5 separate regions of the Homo sapiens genome follow, and regions 1, 2, 4 and 5 are each linked to region 3. The links are contacts of gene promoters, found by promoter capture Hi-C in blood cells and fetal thymus (Javierre and others, 2016). All regions are on one chromosome and are shown on one strand. Each heading gives the region's core, a stretch centred on a gene start or on the middle of the fragment in contact. The rest is flanking DNA. Distances are from core to core; before and after follow the strand shown.

What was found. The method cuts DNA at HindIII sites, captures the fragments that hold promoters and counts their contacts. A CHiCAGO score of 5 or more calls a contact.
Region 1: a fragment that was not itself captured here is called in contact with the fragment with the promoter of NHLRC1 in region 3 in 7 of 17 cell types (M2 macrophages, M1 macrophages, megakaryocytes and 4 more); the score reaches 10.6 in M2 macrophages.
Region 2: a fragment that was not itself captured here is called in contact with the fragment with the promoter of NHLRC1 in region 3 in 8 of 17 cell types (M1 macrophages, M2 macrophages, monocytes and 5 more); the score reaches 8.2 in M1 macrophages.
Region 4: a fragment that was not itself captured here is called in contact with the fragment with the promoter of NHLRC1 in region 3 in 6 of 17 cell types (megakaryocytes, M2 macrophages, M1 macrophages and 3 more); the score reaches 8.2 in megakaryocytes.
Region 5: a fragment that was not itself captured here is called in contact with the fragment with the promoter of NHLRC1 in region 3 in 4 of 17 cell types (megakaryocytes, M1 macrophages, erythroblasts and 1 more); the score reaches 9.3 in megakaryocytes.

The regions. Positions count from the first base shown.
Region 1 is chr6:17,874,000-17,878,547 of GRCh38, forward strand. The region is part of intron 3 of KIF13A (kinesin family member 13A); the gene reads right to left. Among named protein-coding and RNA genes, the nearest start is that of KIF13A, 110 kb to the right of the region's middle. The HindIII fragment of the contact is 4,568 bases long and covers 1-3,729 here.
Region 2 is chr6:17,918,341-17,922,709 of GRCh38, forward strand. All of the region lies in intron 2 of KIF13A (kinesin family member 13A), which reads right to left. Among named protein-coding and RNA genes, the nearest start is that of KIF13A, 67 kb to the right of the region's middle. The HindIII fragment of the contact is 1,780 bases long and covers 1,705-3,484 here.
Region 3 is chr6:18,121,427-18,125,563 of GRCh38, forward strand. It overlaps NHLRC1 (NHL repeat containing E3 ubiquitin protein ligase 1), which reads right to left and starts at 1,251. Exons shown (of 1, transcript NM_198586.3): 1 at 1-1,251. The coding sequence starts at 1,180. The HindIII fragment of the contact is 6,107 bases long and covers 555-4,137 here.
Region 4 is chr6:17,939,888-17,944,046 of GRCh38, forward strand. All of the region lies in intron 2 of KIF13A (kinesin family member 13A), which reads right to left. Among named protein-coding and RNA genes, the nearest start is that of KIF13A, 46 kb to the right of the region's middle. RefSeq lists an enhancer at 51-550. The HindIII fragment of the contact is 2,209 bases long and covers 1,267-3,475 here.
Region 5 is chr6:17,956,020-17,960,524 of GRCh38, forward strand. All of the region lies in intron 2 of KIF13A (kinesin family member 13A), which reads right to left. Among named protein-coding and RNA genes, the nearest start is that of KIF13A, 29 kb to the right of the region's middle. The HindIII fragment of the contact is 1,154 bases long and covers 2,075-3,228 here.

The DNA of each region.
Region 1 (4,548 bases), core at 196-2,695, 250 kb before region 3:
AGATATTTTTTTCCACAATACATCTGATGAGAAAACACAAAAAACAAAAACAATATCTTCTCTCGCAAGTCCATGGTTTCAGCAACCATGGAACCTTCCAGGTCGATCTCCCTCAGCTTCTCAATACTCAACTTTCATATAAAGCAGTTCCTTCTCCTAGCTTTCCATGATATCATCTGTAGCATACTGAAGTTCAAAACTCTCCATATTCCCATCCTGCACTCCTTTCCCCTTCTGTCTCTGCAGGCAATCTCCAGCAAAGCATGTTTTTGTTTTTGTTTTTGTTTTTTGGTGGTGGTGGGGGGGGTTCTTACTGTATTTTTAATATACAATTCCTCGAAAAGTAAAGATGTGAAGCAACTTTACATGTTTAGCAATTTTACATGTTTAGTATTTGGCATGTCTTTTACATGTAAAAGTATCTCTTCATATTTTTTAAATTTTAATTTTTTTTGAGTTGGAGTCTCGCTTTGTTGCCCAGGCTGGAGTGCAGTGGTGCGATCTCGGCTCACCGCAACCTCTGCCTCCCGGGCTCAAGTAATTCTCCTGCCTTCAGCCTCCTGGGTAGCTGGGACTACAGGTGCTCGCCACCATGCCTGGCTAATTTCATGTTTTATCTTTTTTTATTTTTCTATAAGTTATTGGGGTACAGGTGGTATTTGGTTACATGAGTTAGTTCTTTAGTGGTGATTTGTGAGATTTTGGTGCACCCATCACCTGAGCAGTGTACACTGCATCATATTTGTAGTCTTTTATCCCTCGCCCCTCTCCCACTCTTCCCCTCAAATCCCCAAACTCCCCTGTATCATTCTTATGCCTTTCTGTCCTCATAGCTTAGCTCCCACATATCAGTGAGGACATACAACGTTTGGTTTTCCATTCCTGAATTACTTCATTTAGAACAATAGTCTCCAATCTCATGCAGGTCGCTGCAAATGCCGTTAATTCATTCCTTTTTATGGCTAAGTAGTATTCCACCACACACACACACACGCACACGCACGCACACACACACACACACACACAGCATGGTTCCTTTATCCACTTGTTGACTGATGGACATTTGGGTTGGTTCCACGATTTTGCGATTGTGAACTGTGCCACTATAAACATGCATGTGCAAGTATCTTTTTCGTATAATGACTTATTTTCCTCTGGATAGATACCCAGGAGTGGGATTGTTGGATCAGATGGTAGTTCTACTTTTAGTTCTTTAAGGAATCTCCACACTGTTTTCCATAGTGGTTGTACTAGTTTACATTTCCACTAGCAATGTAAAAGTGTTCCCTGTTGACCGCATCCACACCAACATCTACTGGTATGAAATCATTAATTCACTTTTACATGAATTAACTTTCTGTATAGCTACTGAATGCCTACTATATACCGGGAATGGCTGGTGCTTCTTGGTGCTTCCCCTGTAAGGACTCCCATCAAACTGCTGTTTTTTCTTTTCCTTTTTTTTTTTTTTTTGAGACAGAGTCTCACTCTGTCACCCAGGCTGCAGTGCAGTGGCATGATCTCAGCTCACTGCAGCCTCTGCCTCCTGGGTTCAAGCAATTCTCCTGCCTCAGCCTCCCAAGTAGCTGGGACTACAGGCACGCACCACTATGCCCAGCTAATTTTTGTATTTTTAGTAGAGACGAGGTCTCACCATGTTGGCCAGGGTGGACTCAAACTCCTGACCTCAAATGATCTGCCTGCCTCAGCCTCCCAAAGTGCTGAGATTACAGGCGTGAGCCACCATGCCTGGCCCTAACTGCTGTTTTTCATGCCCATTACCACCACTTGTGTTCCAGCTGTTATTATCAAATGTGTAGAGCAATGTTCCCCAAAGTGTGTTCTAAGGAACCAGAGTTTCATGAGCTACTCCATGAAAAAAGACCAAATCATGTTGGAAGTGGTGCACGTTTTATCCTATTTGAGATTCTCAATGAAATTCTCAATATTAAAGGCTCTAAAAAGTCTTCCAGAGACTTTTCAGAAATGAAGTCCAGGAAAGAAGCCTATTTGATTGTTTAACATTTTATTTCCCCAATTCATTTTGGTGAGGAGACCCTTTTTGGACTAACACTTATTAACATGCCTTGGAACTACTACTTCTCAGCATATCCCTTAGCAAATGCAGCCCAGGTGACTCAGCAGCTACCTTCCTGGGCTCACTGCTATTGCCCTTTATCTCTTGCAGTCCAAACAGCAAATTACAAACCTCCCATGGGCAGGATCCTTTAATGCTTAATCACTTCCAAGAGATCTTAAGCACTGAGCATACAGAACCCATGCTCTTTGGCCTGGCATTTGAGACTAGCCACAATAGGCCCTCCCAGCCTATTAACCCCAAATTCCTCATGCTCCAGTGGAACTTGTCCTTACCTCAGAATTACTAAGTATAATTTCATCTCTGTCCTTGTTCTCTCCTTCATTTCCACCCTTCAAAATACGTCATACCCCTTAAGGCCCAGTTCGATACATTTTTCCTCCCAGAAGCATTCTTGGTTAAATCCAAAGGAATCATCTTTTCTTTCTCTGAAACCTTACAACACTGTTTAGTCCTTTTTTATGGCTCCTATCTCAATTATTTTATTTTTCATTTATCATGTATATGATCTGTGTGTGTGAGACAGCATTCATTCATTCATTCATTCATTCATTCATTCAGAGACAGGGTCTCCCTCTGTTGCCCAGACTGGAGTGCACTGGCACTATCATGGCTCACTGCAGCCTCAATCAGCTCAATTGATCCTACCTCCTCAGCCTCCTGAGTAGCTGGGACTACAGGCACATGCCACCATGCCCAACTAATTTTTGTGTTTTTTGTAGAGATGGGACTTCGCCATGTTGCCCAGACTGGTATCAAACTCTTGGGTTCAAGCAATCCTCCCACCTTGGCTTCCCAAAGTGCTGGGATTACAGGCATGAGCCACTGTGCCCGGCCTGTATATATGTTTCATCTCCACTTGTAGACTAAGTTCCCTGAAAGCAGGATCCATATCGAATTCATCTTTGAAGCCTGCAATGTTTATAGTAGTCACTTTATAATTACTTATTGATGTACTTAATGGCATTAAGATCTCGCAGGGAAACAGGCATTTTTTTACATTATAAAAGACTAGTAAGTTATACGCAATGTTCTCTCTCTCTTGCCAAAAAAAAAAAAAAAAAAAGACTAAGTTATGTTCTGAATAGTTTCAGCACTATATATACTTTATTTTAATGTTTTTAAAACTGATTTAGGTATATATGATGTACTCAACTTACATCATCAACCCGAGATCCAAATTCAATTTTGTTACTTAAACAAACATTCACTCTGGTTTTATAATAACCAAGTTTCAAATGAACAGTTATGAAACAATAGTTTCAGCCAAGAGAATGTGGAATATTTACTGCATTCAAGGGCTCTTCCAATGACTCTAGAGACCGACCACACAGGCGTAATCCAGTTAATCTTCCTGCCTCTGGGTAGGACTGAACTTCAACACTTCTAAGAGATGATGATCTATCTTGTTTTTAAACATCTCCAGAAAAGGAGATTCCACAAACTCCCTTTAATGGCATCTTATAATACTTAACTTTTATTTCCAGGACATTTCCCTTTTCTTTTGACCTAAGTCAACTCTCCTTACTTTAAACAGCCAATAGAGGCTATTTTCCTTTCTTTTCTTTTCTTTTTGTTTTTTTTGAAGTATCTTTACCGCTCTCCTTCTTATATCCCGGGCACTGTGCCCAAGCTTGATCCATGGTGAATTTCAGTGACATGCGTCATCCTAAATATTAAGAAAAAAAAAATCCTCCCACCAAGAACCTTTGGTTTTCAACCTCATTCTGTGCTGCTTTCAATAACTTCTGGTTTCTGCACTAAAAAAATTTGCAGTCAGTATTTACTGAGCATGACTACAAATCAGGCCTAGTAGTAGCCATCTAATTCATTAATTCACTTATCCATTCACAAATATTTATTGAGTACCTATTGTGTGCTAAGCGCTAGAATTATAGCAGTCAAAAAACATGCAAAGACTCGTGGAGCTCATGAGTATCCTATTACTTGCATTATCTGTAGTAATACTTATATTATTCATGTCCCTTATGAAGCTCCCAGTGAGGTGAAGGGAGAGAAGCAATATGCAAGCAACCAATAAACACATATGACGCCAGGAGGTAATCAGTGACACAAAAATGTAACAGCAAGGGGGCACTGGAAAAAACTGGAGCAGGTCCTATGAAAGCCTGTGGAAAAGCATGACAGCCAGATGGAATAGCAGGTGCAAAGGCACTGGGGCAGAGAGTGCCTGTGTGTTCAAGGACTGTGTTTTGAACACAGTTATTGTTATATATAGTGGAATAATCATTTATTCACTTCTTCAGTTATTGCTATATGTAGTGGAATAATAATTTATTTTCTACATGTTAATTTTTCATGCCTACCTCTAACTTTTTTTTTTTTTTTCATTTTTGTTTTCTTTATAGAGACAGGGTCATGTTGTGTTGCCAAGGCTGGTCTTAACTTCTGGGATCAAGCGATCCTCCTGTCTTGGCTTCCCAAAGTGT
Region 2 (4,369 bases), core at 1,345-3,844, 200 kb before region 3:
TGTCCCACACTGCCATTTATGACAAGTTGTACTTAAACGGCAGCCTATTTTTACATAAATAACAGTTACATTTATTTTACTACTACAGAAAAATGATTATTTTATGTCTGTTAACTACTAATTTGGAGTCCTTTTCACAGGAATGTGTTGCTGGTTTATTTACTGGATTACTCAGTAGCTCTTAAAGTGGCAGGTATCAAGTGGGGAAGCTAATTCCCACTTCTGGGTCTCAGCAGGTATGTGTGTCGAGTTATCTAAATGGACCTTGTGTTTTCTTGGGGCTGCCTTCCTACAGGTAAGAGAAGTATCACTTGGAATTGAAAGCACTCCCATCCCCAGGCATCTGCACAAGAAGCTCCCTCTGCCTGGAAAGCCCTCTCCAGGGCTTGCTCCTCAGAGGAGTGTTCCCCGTACTCCCTACATTAATGTTGAGGCTGCCTGCACCACCTCCATCCCACCTGCATCCTGCTTGGCCCTGTCACTCAGTCTCCTATCACTGTGCTTTGTTTCCTTCTCAGCACCTTTCGCCATGTTAAACCATTTCATTATTTATTTGCTTATTATCCACAGGTCTCCCCTGGATCTGACAGTTATAAGATCCACGGAAAGAGAGGCTTTGTCTATCTTGTTCTCTGATACATTCCCAGTGCCTACAGGGTTGTCAGGCACGAAATAGTCACTCAGTAAGTATCTCTTAAATGAATGGACAGATGCAGTCCTTGGCTCACATCAACGGATCACTTGTAACATTTGAGAAAATGGTGATGTTTCCCTGAATAACTCCACTCTTTGGATTGAAGACCAAGTAAACATACATATAGTGCTGTGTTTTTACAAATGCTTTAATAGTGAAAATTGCAAACACATACGAATGGAATGTGAACAGCATCACATAACATCACAAAACATCACAGCACATCACAAAACAGTAGAAAGTATCCCTCTTCAACAATTACCAATACATGGCCAGTCTTGCACAGGTAAAGTACTATGTACTTAATGCTGCTAAAATAAGACCATTGAGAGAATTTCAAAAGTTATATTAATGTCTGATCCAACATGGATTCATATTCAACTTAGGGAAACAAACTAGCAGATTATAAATTTCCAAAGGGCTCATCTAAGTTTCACATGGTGCTGAGAATAGTAATCACTCCTTTTCTCAGAGACTTCAACCCTCCTATATATCCAGAGTAAGAAAGCTGTGAGTATCAAAAATAGATGTTCTACAGCCCCAAGGGGTCAGCCATGTCTCCACTCCTAATGCACTCAGTGGCTGCTTTACCTACCCTGATTTGACCTGTTCTATTATCTAGTTTTCCAGCACACACAGCAGATACGACAGCTAACAAGCAGGGCTGTGAGACAGGGTGGCAGCCGAACGGTGTCTCCTGGCAGCCCAATACTGTGACAAGAGGTGAAAGCTGAGGGCAACCCAAGCCCCTTTCACCATGTGGAAAATAATGGATGCTCATGATGACATCCAGCAGCCTCTGGCTCTGCTACGACAGTGAAGAAATACAGCAAAACAGTGCAGGACCAGTGTTTGAAGGAATAAGCTCCAGTGATCTGAAAAATTAACTTCTATTAAAATACTCATGGAAGGGAAGACATAAGCAGCAGGTTGAGTTAGAAGAAAATTTTTTGTTGGATTAGGATTTATTTTAGATAAAGATTCTAGACAATTTCAATGATTTAGGATTAAGCTTGCTTGGTTTCTGTTTTAGTGTTTTGACCAAAAGGGTGTAATTACATGTAGTTTTCGTCCCAGTCTCTATTACATGGTCCAGGTCAAGAAAACAGGAGTGACCAACAGAAGAAAACATACTCCAATGAGGCACGAAATGAAAAGGTGCAACTGGGTATGCCCAAATCAGCAGGCCTCAAACCTGTCATGAAACATGTCTAAAAAAAAAATACAAGGTAAATTAGCATTCCTAGCATCTTCACCTTCACTTCTCCCCCACTTACCAAAAATGAAAGGTGGGAAGGAGAGAGGATAGGAAGAACACTTTTTTCTTTTACAATCATCAAGGAGAACAATCATTTTCATTAGTGTTTCTATACACAAAATCTTTCTCTGCTTGAGACATTAAAAAGAAAATTTTGGTCTGGGCCTTTTGGTTAGCTTCCTACTTTTCTGGAATACCATTCCAAGGACAATGAATATCCTTTCAAAGCTGAGACCTTATTCTTTTCATCAATTTACAAAACTACCTATTCACTCTACTTTCATGTAAAAGTAATATGCGGCTGGGTGCGGTGGCTCACGCCTGTAATCCCAGCACTTTGGGAGGCCGAGGTGGGTGGATTACCTGAGGTCCGGAGTTCGAGACCAGCCTGGCCATCATGGTGAAACCCTGTCTCTACTAAAAATACAAAAATTAGCTGGGCCTGGGGGCGTGCACCTGTAATCCCAGCTACCCAGGAGGCTGAGGCAGGAGAATCTCTGGAACCAGGGAGGAAGAGGCTTCAGTGAGCCGAGATTGCACCACTGCACTCCAGCCTGGGTGATAGGGCAGGACTATGTCTCAAAAAAAAAAAAAAAAAAGTAATATGCATTGCTTAGAATAAACATTGTAAATTGAAAGTGAACTGCAAATAAGTTTGCCCTTAAAGGGTCATATCCTCCAAGATAAATGCTATCTTAAGGTACTGGAAAAATTCCACTGCAATCCTGAGGCCTACTAGGCAAATGGAACCAATGGAAACAATGAAAAATACATAAATGACACCTTTCCCAAAGATATTCAGAGAAGGATTACTGCAGCAAGACACACTAATGTTAGTGTAGTTCAGAGTAGGGGGTCCCATAATCAAACATGTTTTTTAATGCCTGCCTCTATAAGCCCCCAACTTAAAAATTCCCAAAGCATGGTAGCATATCAAGTGCACTGAGAAGTTGTGCAGTAAATAAACTGATTTAACTTTATTTTACTGCAGAGACATTCTTCCCTGCATGGCAAACATTAGCATCCAGTTCAAGGGAACACACTTCAAGGAAAGCTGACAAATCTCAAGTAACAATAACCAGCTAATACAGAAAAATAGACTCACAGTCTTCACTTTATGAAGGAGGAAAAACATACTCAGAGACCTACTTTTAAAAATGTCAGAGGACCATAACAATGATGCCAGTAACCCCTTAGTACAATCTTTCCAGAAAGTTTTTCTACATTTGAAAATAAATGCAAACAGCTGAGCTTTTTATTCGCACTTTGATCATTTCCATTGGGGTATTTTAAAATGAGACAATGGGTGTGCCCCTTCACTGACTCCCTCAGTGAGGACACAATAGAACAGAACATCTGCCAATAACTGATGAGAATCAAGGTGGGGAGAGAGGAAGGGAGGAGAATGCCCTTGGAAAGCCAAGAGTGGGAAGAACAAAAACTCTTGGTGTCGTCCTGTGCTCTGAAGACTAGCCTGCTTCTGGTTAAACCACTTGGGCTCTTGGCTGGCCCCAATCTACCTAAAGCTCCAAAGCTTCCCCCAGTAGAAGTTTTGTTTTTTGCTTATAGACATTTCACTTTTCCTGCAAGTCCTATTAGTTGAGTGACTAAAAAATCTGCAGAGTTTACTTATAGAAGTACTTTTATTGATTAATCCAAAGAGAAACTTAAGCTTTTAAATCAGGTAAAAAGGGGCATCAAACACAATACATTGAACTTTTAATTAACAACACTGGAAGCATTTTTGGGCCCACAACAATTTAACTCACTTCAAGTCCAATTTAACTTATTTCAAGTCACTAGAAGGAGTGACCCCAGGGGAGGGCTCATCGACAAGATCCTGCAGACACAGGGCTTTAACTCCAGACCCAGGAGACTCAGGTCAACAGCTAACAGCCCCTGCAAAAGTCCATCACAGTCCATTCTCTAGAAGGTCTCCAGAAATGAGAACATCTAGTATTTCCACTAAGGAAAGCCAACAATTTGGAAATTCCCAACCCCCAACTCAAGGGATCTGTGGCAAGGTGACTTGAGGAGTTTGGAGTCCATGTTGTTTTCCAAACACCAGTGAAGAAACAAACCTGGAGGATGGAAAAATAAACCATGGTACTCCATACAATGCAACAGTTTACAGCAGTGGAAGGACATTAACCACAGTTTCACACATCAATGTGGATGAATCTGAAAAAAATAATGTTGAAAGAAGAAAGCAAGCCCGTGAATAATATATTCAACATGATTCTATTACATTAATTCACCAAAAAGGGCAAAACTAAAAATATATTGCTTGGGGATAAATAGTTAAATGAAAAACTTAAAAAAAAAAAAAAAAGAAAGAAATGATAACCATAAAAATCAGGAAAGTGAGGTTATTTAGAAGGACACTCCTTTGGGTCCACTCTTCTAAAACATGGGTT
Region 3 (4,137 bases), core at 1-2,500:
AGTCAACTTTATAGACTTTTATAGAATGAGATGCTGTGTCCAGCACAAGAAGAGAATTCTCCTTGGTGAAGGTAAGAGCCACAGGATGCGAAAGACCATGAGTGACCATGGGCTTCGGTACTGGAAACTCCTCAGGTTTTCCTAAGCAAAGGATAGCTGGACCAGATGTATCTGCAACAATCACATTTCCCTGGTGATCAAAGGTCACAGCGGAGGCAGTTATTTTGGAGGGAAAGTAGAGGCTCAGCCCAAAGGTATCCACTTGGCCGACAAGCTGCATACTTGAGCTAAACACTTTCACCCTGGTGCTGCAAACCCCAGTCCCCAGGGCCAGGGGGTGCTCCAGGACCGCAATGGCCCCGGTGAGCCAAGACACTGCCACCCCTCGGGGATTGCACAGATGAGCTTGCAACCTTTCAGTTCTCCGAAGGACCCCTTCCGCGAAGTCGACGTCCAGGAGGTGCAGGGACCCTGCCTCCGCATCAGTTACCACAATCCCATTCTGAGGGGTGGTCTCCACACCCCAAGGTAAGGAGAATTGGCCTCCAATGACAAGCTTGATCTGGCCAAAAAAATCAAACACTTTGATGGAGCGATCGCCGGCGTCAGTGACAACCACATGGCAGTCGTTGGTGATGGTGACATCCACAGGGTACCTAATGTCTTGGGCAGCGTCCCCCTTCTCTCCAAACTGATGCGCGCATCCTCCCCCTGAGTCAAAAATCTTGACACGCCTCCTGCCGTCGTGCACCACCACGACACGCCCCGTCTTGGGACAAAGCGCCAGTCCGGTGGGGTTGACCAGGGTCCCCCAGCCGCCGAAGGTGTGGTGGCAGGTGAGGGCTCCGGGGGCGCTGGGGGCGGCGCGATGGGCGGCCGGGGACTGGCGAAGCGCTGAGCCCAGGAGCTCTATGAGGTGCAGCACCGGCAGGCAGTCGCTGGTGTCGCAGCCCCGGCAAGCTCGCCTGCAGAATGGGCACTCGAGGGCCAGAGTGCGCGGGTGCGCCAGGGCGGCCACGCAGGCCAGGCAGACCACGTGGCCGCAGGACAGGTTGCGCGGGCGCCGCTGCTGCCGGTGGCCAAACTTCTCAAAGCACACCTTGCACTCGAGCAGGCTGATCTCCGCCTCGCGCATGAGCTCATGCAGCGCTGGCCCGCTCTCCGAGGCTTCGGCCGCCATGGCGCGTCCTGTGCACTCCCGCCGCGCCGCCTGGCCGTGCCCCAGCGACGCTCTCGGTCACGGTCACAGTCATGGTCACGGGGTGGGACGTGCGCCCTGACGTCGAGCGCCGCGGGCCTCTGCACTGCGATCTGCTGCCCCTTGGTGGGCACGCGCGGCACTGTTTCCTGAGGGCCTGATGGTGGACGTTTGCAAGACAAATCCACATGCGCGTTGTGTAGACCTGTAATCGTCACAGCAGTCATGGATGGATTGTGTACACTTTCAGATGAGGAAACACACCTATTGAGGACAACAGGATTGCTCCCTGTCACCCAGCCTGTAAGCGGCAAAACAAGAACTAGAACCCAATCTTCCAGCCCGGGTGCCTAGCAGTGTCTCCAATCCGCAGCGCCGGGTGCTACGGCTGTCCGGGCATAAAACATGGTCCCTTAGCTCATGATGCTTATGATCTGAACCGGAAAACACGAACACACTAGAGAAGATAAACTCCAAGGGAGGTGAGGCAGATGTGTACATTTCTTTTGTGTCTTCTGTCATACTCATAGTTAAGTCAATGTTAGATGAATACATACTTGTAAAATGAATTTGTGCATGAATGAATGTTATAGAACAACAACAACAACAAAAAAAAATCAACGAGGTGAATGAGTGTCAGATGGGGCAACCATGCTGGAAGTGTCTTGCAGAGTAATTAATATGAAATAAGAAAGCTGTTAGTTAATAATAATTACCATAGAACTTCATTTTTTTGTTTTTTAAGACAAAGTCTCACTCTGTCACCCAGGCTGGAGTGCAGGGGCACGATCACAGCTCACTGCAGCCTCCATCTCCCAGGCTCAAGCAATCCTCCCACTTCAGTAGCTGGGACTACAGGCATGCACCATCACACTAGGCTAATTTTTTAATTTTTTTGTAGAGAGGAGGTCTCACTATGTTGCCTAGGCTGGTCTTGAACTTGTGAAAATTGTTCACATTCCTCCCCACCCCTTGGCCTCCCAAAGTGCTGGTGTGAGCCACTGTGCCCAGCCTATGGAATTCACATATGCCTGCCCCATTGTGTTAGGTTGGTGAAAAGGATTCGCAGTGTTTGCCATCACTTTTAATGGCAAAACCGTGATTACTTTTGCAGCAAATTAATAAATAATTTACATAGATTATCTTGTTTAAACCTCATAGCAATCCTACAAAAATATGTTATTTTTATTGTCTTTTTTTCTGATAGAATTCATAGAAATCAAATATCTTGCCCAGGGTCACATGGCTAGGAAGTGGCTGGCCTGGAATTTGAAGCCAGGCAGTTTGACTTCAGAGTTACCTATTTTAGTCATTTTCAAACTTCTTTGCACATGGTAAACACCTGGGTCGCACCCGAAAAGTTTAATTGGCCCATGGTGTGGTCTGGACAGCTGGGATTTATAAAAGCTCCCCAGGTGATTATAATGTACAGCCAAGTTTGAGAAACACTGCATTATAATAATTCCCTCAAATGACACTAAGTTCAGTTTTTCCAATCTCAGTTAAGACCAAAAACAAAGAGAATTTGCCATATGTTGGAAAATCTTCAAACAAGGGATAGCATAATCTGTGTGAAGAATCCATTGTGGTATTATAATCTCTCATTTTTCTTTTTCTTTCTTTTTTTTTTTTTTCTTTTTGAGACAGAGTCTTGCTCTGTCACCAGGCTGGAGTGCAGTGGCGCGATCTCGGCTCACTGCAGCCTCCACCTCCTGGGTTCAGGCGGTTCTCCCACCTCAGCCTCCTGAGTAGCTGGGATTACAGGCACCCGTGACCATGCCTGGCTAAGTTTTGTATTTTTAGTAGAGATGAGGTTTCACCATGTTGGCCAGGCTGGTCTCAAACTTCTGACCTTTCGCGTCAGCCTCCCAAAGTGCTAGGATTACAGGCATGAGCCACCGTGCCTGGCCCTAAACTCTTATTTTTAAGGGGTTCTCCCTCAAATGTCTTATGTGAACATTGTGCTTAACAAAACCTTGTATTAGAGAATTTCTTTTCCTTTAGAGATCATAATCATGAACATTCACCTTCTGATTTGCTAGATTTCTGAGAAAACACAATATTTTATCCCCTGTTGAGGCCCCTGGAAAGAGCTTTAATGTAAGACAAGAAAGAACATTTTCTAATCAAATGTCATTTGACTCAAAGATTGCGTACTGGGACACAATAACCAACTTAATAATTTCTGACTACATTTCCATCCCAAATAAACAACCAACTAAAATCACATTATTTATGCAATCACACCATTGCATAATTGATTAATAACAAATATGTCTTGAATCTCACTCTGACATTTGGCATTTCCTATGACTATCATTTCCTCCTCCATGGCTGGGCCTCCATGGATTTACCCTGTGCTTCCCTCCGATATTCCTTCTATAGAGGGTCCTGGACTAGCATGCCCATCTTTTCCTGCTTCCACCTAGAACAAGCCCTGAGAGTTGTGGGGGCAAAGGGCTTGAAGAGCAGAACGTCTAGTTTCCAAAGTGGTCAATGGCTGCCCTATGAAAAAGTACCATACTATAGTGGAAGGAGAGTGGGGACCCAGCTCAGGATGGTTCCAGCAGAGAAGAGAGCACAGGGGGAGCATGAGTTAGGGGGAGTCAGTGCTTAGACAGGTGGGCTCCTGGTTGTGCAGGTGGGGCAAATGTGCCAGACACATGCAGTTTAGAAGGAATCCCAGAACAAGTTTAATGATCCAATTACAACTCAGACTACCTGACAATGATGTAAGGGAAAGGAAGATGAACAAGCCACACAGAATGGGCTTTGCTTCCAGCCTTGCCCTCCTCCCAGGGGCGTCTCTGACCACCACTCTAATTTTTAAGCTCCATGTTCTTGGCATCTCAGGGGTGAGGGATGTGGTGGCAAGAGGAAGAATGGCTGTTTTTGAATTTTTTGAGTAAGTCCATACAAAAATGAGTGGAGATGTATGT
Region 4 (4,159 bases), core at 1,121-3,620, 180 kb before region 3:
AAATTAGCTGGGCGTGGTGGCGGGCGCCTATAGTGCCAGCTACTCGGGAGGCTGAGGCAGGAGAATGGCGTGAACCTGGGAGGCGGAGCTTGCAGTGAGCCGAGATCGCGCCACTACACACTCCAGCCTGGGAGACAGAGCGAGACTCCGTCTCATAAATTAAAAAAAAAAAAAAAAAAGATAGTCTCACCCACCATGACAATTTACAAATGCCATGGCAACATCGGGAATTTACTCTATATGGAAGTTCCTTCCTTCCTTCCTTCCTTCTTTCCTTTCCTCCTCCTCCTCCTCCTTTTTCCTCCTCTTCCTCTTCTTCTTTTGGAACACTGTTTTGAAGGTACATCAGCACAATGCTTCTTAAACTTCAATATGTATACGGATGCTTCAGGAACACTATTAAGCGCAGATTCTTCGATTCTGTAAATCCGTGGTGGGTCCTGAGCTTCTGCATTTCTAATGAGCTCCCAGGGTGTGCTAATGCTGCTGATCCACAAGGGATTCGAGCATGCAAATTAAGTTATGGAGAAAGCATTACTGTTTAATTTTACATATGGTAGGAAAACGCTGTTAGTGAACCTACAGATGAAACCTAATTAGGGGTCAAAAATCAACCACAGATAGAGCATATTTTATCTTTCCAGTCATTGTTTCCTTCTTTCAAGAGGCAGCAGCAGAGTTAAGAGAGAATTCCCTGTTCCCCTTACCAGACCAGTGAAGAGTTTTCAGGAAGAGACCTCACAGGAGAGCTATATATAAAAGACAGCAGAAGGCAGGGCTTGAACTAATGGCTGCATAATTAGCTTGATATAAAAGAAGATTATTTGCATTTCAAGTGTTACACATTTTCCCCCATAACAAGAATTCCTGTAGTTAGAATTTTTTATGACAAACTTTTTAATTAGTTAGGACTTAACACATGTAAATTTATTTTTTTTTTTTTTTTTTTTTTTTTTGAGACAGAATTTGGCTCTGTTGCCCAGGCTGGAGTGCAATGGCGCAATCTCGGCTCACCACAACCTCTGCCTCCTGGGTTCAAGTGATTCTCTTGCCTCAGCCTCCCAAGTAGCTGGGATTACAGGCATGCACCATCATGCCTGGCTAATTTTGTATTTTTAGTAGAGACAGGGTTTCTCCATGTTGATCAGGCTGGTCTCGAACTCCTGACCTCAGGTGATCCGCCTGCCTGGGCCTCCCAAAGTGCTGGGATTACAGGCGTGAGCCATTGCACCTGGCCCAACATATGTAATTCTAAATCATCAAAGAAGCTTTAACTGGTATTTGAAGGGTAGAATCCATTCTGCTACCCAAATATATTACCCTCCTAAAACCCACTAAGAAGCTGCTGTCACCTGGATTTAAAATAGCCTGGTGCTATGAACTCTGCCCTAATTATATCAAAGAGTAAAGTCAAGGTTTTTCAAATCTCAAATCAAAATCAAAGATCTCAACCTTTGGGAGAAGCTCTAAATATCTAAAAGCATCTTAGCTATTGTTATGAATGGAATCATGTCCCCACACCCTAAATTTCCATATTGAAGCCTTAACCCTCAGTACCTCAGAATGCGACATCTGGAGATAGGAGCTTGAAAAAGGTTAAAGTTAAAATGATGTCATTACAATGGGACCTAATGCATTATGACTGGTGTCTTTATAAGCAAGGAAATCCGGACAGAGACACACAGAGAAGGAAGACAATGAGAAGACGCAGGGAGAAGACAGTCATCTACAAGCCAAGGAGAGAAGTCTCAGAGGAAACCAAACCTGCCCACACCTTGATCTCGGACTTCCAGCCTCCAGGGTAGTGAGAAAATATTCAACCTTCAACATGGGTACCCATGTTGAAGGCACCCAGTCTGTGGTACTATGCTATGGTAACCCTAGCAATACCAATACATTTGCTTTTTTTTTTTTTGGTTCCCAATTCACAGTAGATGTTCTAAAGAAAGTTCTGAACTTTCCTTCAGAAAAGGATGGGTTGTATATACTATTAATTATTAACGTTATTATTAGAGATACTTTGGGACATAGGAAAGTTTACGGTGAGTGTTAGAAGGCCTCACCACAGCTGTCAAATTAACTTGTTCTCTGAATACCCAATGCAAAATATTCTATATCAACATATATATTTCTGCTGGGTGTGGTGGCTCACACCTCTAATCCAAGCATTTTGGGAGGCTGAGGTGGAAACTGCTTCAGCGCCAAGAGTTCAAGACCAGCCTGGACAACATGGCAAAACCTCATCTCTATAAAAAAACACAAAAATTAGCCAGGCGTGGTGGCATACACCTATAGTCCCAGCTACTCGGGAGGCTGAGGTAGGAGGATTACTTGAGCCCAGGAAGTCCAGATTGCAGTGAACCATGATCATGCCACTGCACTCCAACCTGGGTGACACAGTGAGACCTGTCTTGAAGAAACAAAACACAACAAGAACAACAACAACAAATATATATATATATATATATATATTTCTGTTCATTGAAATTTAGACTTTGCCACACCAGAACAATCTGAAGCCTGCCTAGGTTTAAATTCTGGTGTTGTCATTGAATTAGCTGTATAATTTCCAAATTTCACTCCCTCCCATCTGCAAAATGGGTACCTACCTCATAAAGTTGCAGCAAGTATTAAATGAGATACATTTCATAACAGAAATACATTTCATAACAGACACTGGCTGACAGCTCTTCCAGCATATCTGGGTGCCTATCAGCCTTGGCTATTATATTTATCAAATATAGTCAAAGTCCTCCTCTCTTATAAACAGGCTTGGCTAGCTGGACAATGAGTTTAAAGAGTAGATTAGGCCGGGCGCAGTGGCTCACGCCTGTAATCTCAGCACTTTACGAGGCCAAGGCAGGTAGATACCCTGAGGTCAGGAGTTCGAGACCAGCCTGGCCAACATGGTGAAACCCCATCTCTACTAAAAATACAAAAATTAGCTGGGCGTGGTGTCAACACGCCTGTAATCCCAGCTACTCGGGAGGCTGAGGAAGGAGAACTGCTTGAGCCTGGGAGATGGAGGTTGCAGTGAGCCAAGATTGTGCCACTACACTCCAGGCTGGCCGACAGAGTGAGACTCTGTCTCAAAAAACAAAAACAAAAACAAAAACAAAAAACAAAAAAAAGAGTAGATTAAAGCAGAGAATCATAAAAATGGGTACTTATACCTTTAAACGTTTTTACATTAACTTAAAGTATTTAAAAGTTCGTTCATTCTGCAATCTTTAGACTGACACAAAGTACATTTCCTTGAGAATGGTCTGCTGAATGGAGTTCTGGTTGTTTTTCTATGTAAACTACACCATGATGCATTATGAATTTTCAATGTCTGTTTCTTTAAGGAGAATAAAGAACTGGTCACTGAAAAACAATCTGAGTATAGAAACCTCTTCTATTTTTATAATCCCTCTCTCTCCTGTGTTTAATTCGATGGCAGTATTTTTTAGAAAGTGATTCTCCAATGTTAGTAAGCTTCAGAATCACCTGGAAAGTTTGGTAAAACACAGATTTTTTTTTTTTTTTTTTTGTATTTTTAGTAGAGACAGGGTTTCACCATGTTGGCCAGCCTGGTCTCGAACTCCTGACCTCAGGTGATCCACCTGCCTCGGCCTCCCAAAGTGCTGGGATTACAGGTGTGAACCACCGCACCCAGCCAAGTTTCTGATATAACAGGTCTAGAGTGGAGGCTGAGAATGTGCATTTTTAACAGGTTTCAAGAGGACTCTGATGCTGCTGATCTGGGAAGCACATTTTGAGAATTCACTTTCACTGATTCTGTCTTCCACAGAAAGCACATTTTTTCTGTTCATATAATATCAATTTACATAATAACTAAACTCTATAAAGCCAAATACTACTGGTTTTGGTAATTTACAACTCAACGGGGAGGCGTGGAAGTGCGTGGCATGCAACTGGGATGTCCATGGTCAACGAACCCACCCAGCATGAGCATCAGTTGACTTATGTCATAGAAGGAGTTGAGAACACCAGTTAATGCAGTGAACTGGTTAAATGGAGATCAGTTCAGAAAGCCTCAACCACATTAAGTTGATGCTTATAACTTTTCTGCATCTACCCAACACAAAGCAGAAAAGAATCATGAGCTAGAAGTATATGGTTTTCTAATAATTACACACTTGCTGAAGATTTTTCT
Region 5 (4,505 bases), core at 1,402-3,901, 160 kb before region 3:
TGCTTTAAATCTACAGTCAAGCATTTTGAGTGTGAACAGCAAGCAAAGCAACGGACTTAGGTTCACAGTGCCAGGCTCCGTTCTAAGGACTCATCAAGTGGTAGCTCATTTAACCTTACATCCGTAAGATGCAGGTATTATCATCCTCATTTACAAATGAGGAAGTTGAGGCATGGAGAGGACAGGTAACTCATCCAGGATCACACAGTAATAAGTGAAAAGGCTAGGATTTACTTTCAATCTGGCTCCAGAGTCTGTGCCTTTAACTACTGCTCTGTTATTAGACTCAACAATAGGTCCATTACAAAGAAGGTCCAGAAAAATCCAGCATGTGCACACTTTTTCAAAGACCATCAACCATGCAGCCAAGTGCCACCTGTTTGTGGTCCTCCCTGATTAGCAGTCTTGTCCATCATCTACTTTGTGCCTAGCACTGCAAAAGCAACCAAGATGGAAACAAACCCAATATGCAAGAGATTTACTATCTAGGTAGGGAGGCAAGTTATGCCTAAGCAGCAAAGGTGGTGTTAGGCTGTGATATTATGGTGATAGACATATATTGGTTTTTGTCCATGGTTCCTGGCTCATAACTCCCATACCCCTTGTTACAGTCCTTTGCTATAATGTTGGGGTGCTTTAGGTCTCAGGAGGAGGCCTCAGGGAATAGATTCTCTCTCGCCGACCTTCTCCTGTCCTCTAATCTGGCTGTGGGTCAAAAAAAAATCCTCATTCCAGAGAGGGTCCTGCTCTATACTCTGGAGGAAGAAATGCTGCATAGAGAGGCCAAGAAGGAACTAACACAGACAGGCCTTGCTGAGTTTCCCCACTCAGTCTACTAGTATGAGATCACAACCTTTCTGTTCAATCACATTTTTTTTTTTAGACGGAGTCTCACTCTGTAGCCTAGGCTGGAGTGCAGTGGTACAATCTTGGCTCACTGCAACCTTGCTTCCCAGGTTCAAGTGATTCTCCTGCCTCAGCCTCCCAAGTAGCTGGGATTGCAGGTACCCACCACCATGCCTGGCTAATTTCCTGTGTTTTTAGTAGAGACAGGGTTTCACCATGTTGGCCAGGCTGGTCTCGAACTCCTGACCTCAAGTGATCTGCCCGCCTTGGCCTCTCAAAGTGCAGGGATTACAAGTGTGAGCCATCGCACCAGGTCCCACTTTTTTATGCCATCCATATTCAATCATGTCTATATAACAAGACCTCCATAAAAACCCTCAAGCACAAAGTTTGGAGAGCTTCCAGATCACTGAGCACATGGAGGCAGCAGACAGGACAGTGAAAAAGAACTCGTTCACATGCTGGGAGGGTGGTGTACCCCATCTCCACAGGGACACAAGCTCCTGTGCTAGGGATAGGGACCCTTGCAGACCTCGCCCTATGTATCTCTTCATCTGGCTGTTTATTTGTATCCTCTAAGATAACCTTCATAATCAACTGGTAAATATAAGTGCTCCCCTGAGTTCTGTGAGCCTCTCCAGCAAATTAATCAAACCCAAAGAAGGGGTCCTGGAAACCCCAACTTGAAGCTGGTAGGTCAGAAGTTCCAGAAGCCCAGACTTGTGACTGATGTTTAAAACAGGGGGGCAGTCTTGTGGGACTGAGCCCTCAACCCGTGGGATCTGACACTATCTCTGAGTAGACACTGTCAGAACTGAATCAGAGGACACCCAGCTGGTGTTCACTGCTTGTTGGTGGGGGAAAACCCCAAGACATTTGGCCACAGAAGTCTTCTGTGTTGCTTGTTGTGGTGTGAGAGCAGAGGGAAAACACAATTTGAGTTTTCTGCAAAACACAGGCTTATCACAATATTTAAAGACATGATGTGTCTCATGGCCAGACAGAGTTGTTTGGTGTTTTTCCTCTTCACATTGTCATAAAGCTTAACATGACAATGACTTCACATACTTTTTCAAAACACTTTAAAAGAACAGCCTGAGGTTTAGACCAGCCTTCCTCTAGGAAACAGTCACAGAAAACATTTTCAATGGTGAAATGTCTCTAAAAGCTCTCACCAAACCCTGCTTTTGAAGCAGCTTCAGTCTGATAAACTGACACAGAAATAAAAAGCTTCTCATATAATAGACACCCGCCTTTACAAGCTGCTAAGCTGCCACTCACAATTATACCTCAGGCACAAGGAGGGTTTTACTCACCAGCCATTCTAATCAATTGCAATTTGTCTTTGGTGGCATTAATTTCATCTACTATCGCTAGATGATCATCAAATCAACCTAAATTCCTCAAAAGATACTGAAGGGGTTTGCAAAAATTCTTCCCTAAAAAATATTCTCTGGCTGTCCATTCCTCTCAGCAGTAATGTTCCTCCCAATTGCTTTTTAAGAATACTTATGTTTGCATATGGTGTTCTGGACAGCACACATCTGACTATATCTAGTTAGATACATCAAACTTCTGAGTAACTGAAATTGCTAAGTAAAATATCTATAAATAGGCAAATACACAGTCTGTGGCTTATAACATTCGTTTAGAAGCTATATATAGTAAAAAGTATTCTCTATAGATGTAGTACAGCTGTTATTTGAATTGTGACACGCAAAGACAATATGTATTTGAACAGCAGTTTACTTCTTTTATCAACTATCCTCATGTTTCAAATTTGACAGTTTTATTCCATTTCTTCATCTTCACCTTGAATATACAATGTGATATTTCAATTATATGATTTATTCTTATACTTTAATTCCATTTATTCCATCTAATCCATTGTCAAGGTGTTGTATTCATCCGAATGCAAAACTGATTTTCATCTACTACTTATTCAATACATAAAAATCCAATTATAAAACCATGTTGACAATGCTAACATTTGTGTGTCTTTTTCTTTTTCTTTTTTTTTTTTTTTTTTTTTTTGAGACAGGGTCTCACTCTGTGCCCAGGCTAGAGTGCAGTAGTGCAATCATAGCTCACTGCCACCTCTATCTTCCAGGCTCAAGCAATCCTCCCGCCTCAGCCTCCCACGTAGCTCCCAAGTAGCCTCCCAAGTAATCACCATGCCAGGCTAATTTTTTTTAAAATTTATATTTTGTAGAGATGGGGTCTCACTATCTTGCCCAGGCTGTGTCATTTATCTCTAAATAAAAAAATTACTGTAAGTCATATATAGGTCACTGTTTAAGGAGCTACATACATCTTATCATTCATTCAATGTTTACTCCGTGCTAGGTATACAATGACAAGCAAAACTGACATCATGCCTGAAGCTTCATAAGAGCTTCTAGAGACAGCCTCATCTATGTTATAGAGACTGCATGAAAAATAGCCATGCCCATACAAAGCAATGCATTTTAAATACATTTGCAAATTACTCTTTATTACTTACACTACATTATGTTTGGGAGATGCAATGCAAAAAAAGAGTTTTATAAAATATTCCATTGCCACCAAAAATAAAGTTCTCGGAACACCAGATGTTTCTCTGTAGGAACACATAAGAGTCAAGGGTTGGAAAGCAGCAGAGGAAAGAATGTATTCTTAGAAAAATAAACTGGATAGAAACAGGCAGTCAGTGTAAACAACTCTAAAATAAAATGATCTCAACACCTTCTGTATCAACAAGTAGAGAGTACTCCTCTTCAGGCAGAATTGATTATTTTCAATTATATTTCCTAAACCTCCACATTAACCCAAAATAAACATGAAAGTCAGGGACATCTAATGGTAGCTTTCCTTATTCAATTAAAAGCTATCAGTTCGGCTGGGCGCAGTGGCTCACGCCCGTAATCCCAGCACTTTGGGAGGCCGAGGCCGGCGGATCACCTGAAGTCAGGAGTTCGAGACCAGACTGACCAACATGGAGAAACCTCGTCTTTCCTAAAAATACAAAATTAGCCTGGTGTGGTGGCGCATGCCTGTAATACCAGCTACTTGGGAGCTGAGGCAGGAGAATCGCTTGAACCCGGGAGGCGGAGGTTGTGGTGAGCCGAGATCGCGCCATTCCACTCAAGCCTGGGCAATAAGAGCAAAACTCCACCTCAAAAAAAAAAAAACAACAACAAAAAACAAAACTCTCAGTTCTCACCAATTAACATGTCCTCCCCAAATGGTGGCTAGAAAAAGGTTTATCATGCATTCATTTTGAATGGCATTTGTGATTCCTCAACCCATGGGGAAATTTTAGGAGTTAAAAATCTGCCAACAAGGTAAAATCATAAAAAAAGGTTATGAGTCAAAGGGAAAATCACTCTTTAGTAACTAAAAAAAAGTAAACATTCTTTGAGAGTAGCAAAAAGAGAGCGAGTATAAAAAATAATTTTGGATTTTGCCTTAACTGGAAACACTAATGGACCAGCCTCTGGGCACCAATGTTTGTTGACTAAACTTAACAAATGAATTATAACTAAAAATAACACTGCTAAACTTTAAAACCAAGATGTTTTTGCTAAGCAAACTCTCCCCACAAATAGGTATCTCTTTCTATGTATTAACTATGCATTTATGAATGTGATCAGCCTGGCTAACAAATCAGTGACCATTTT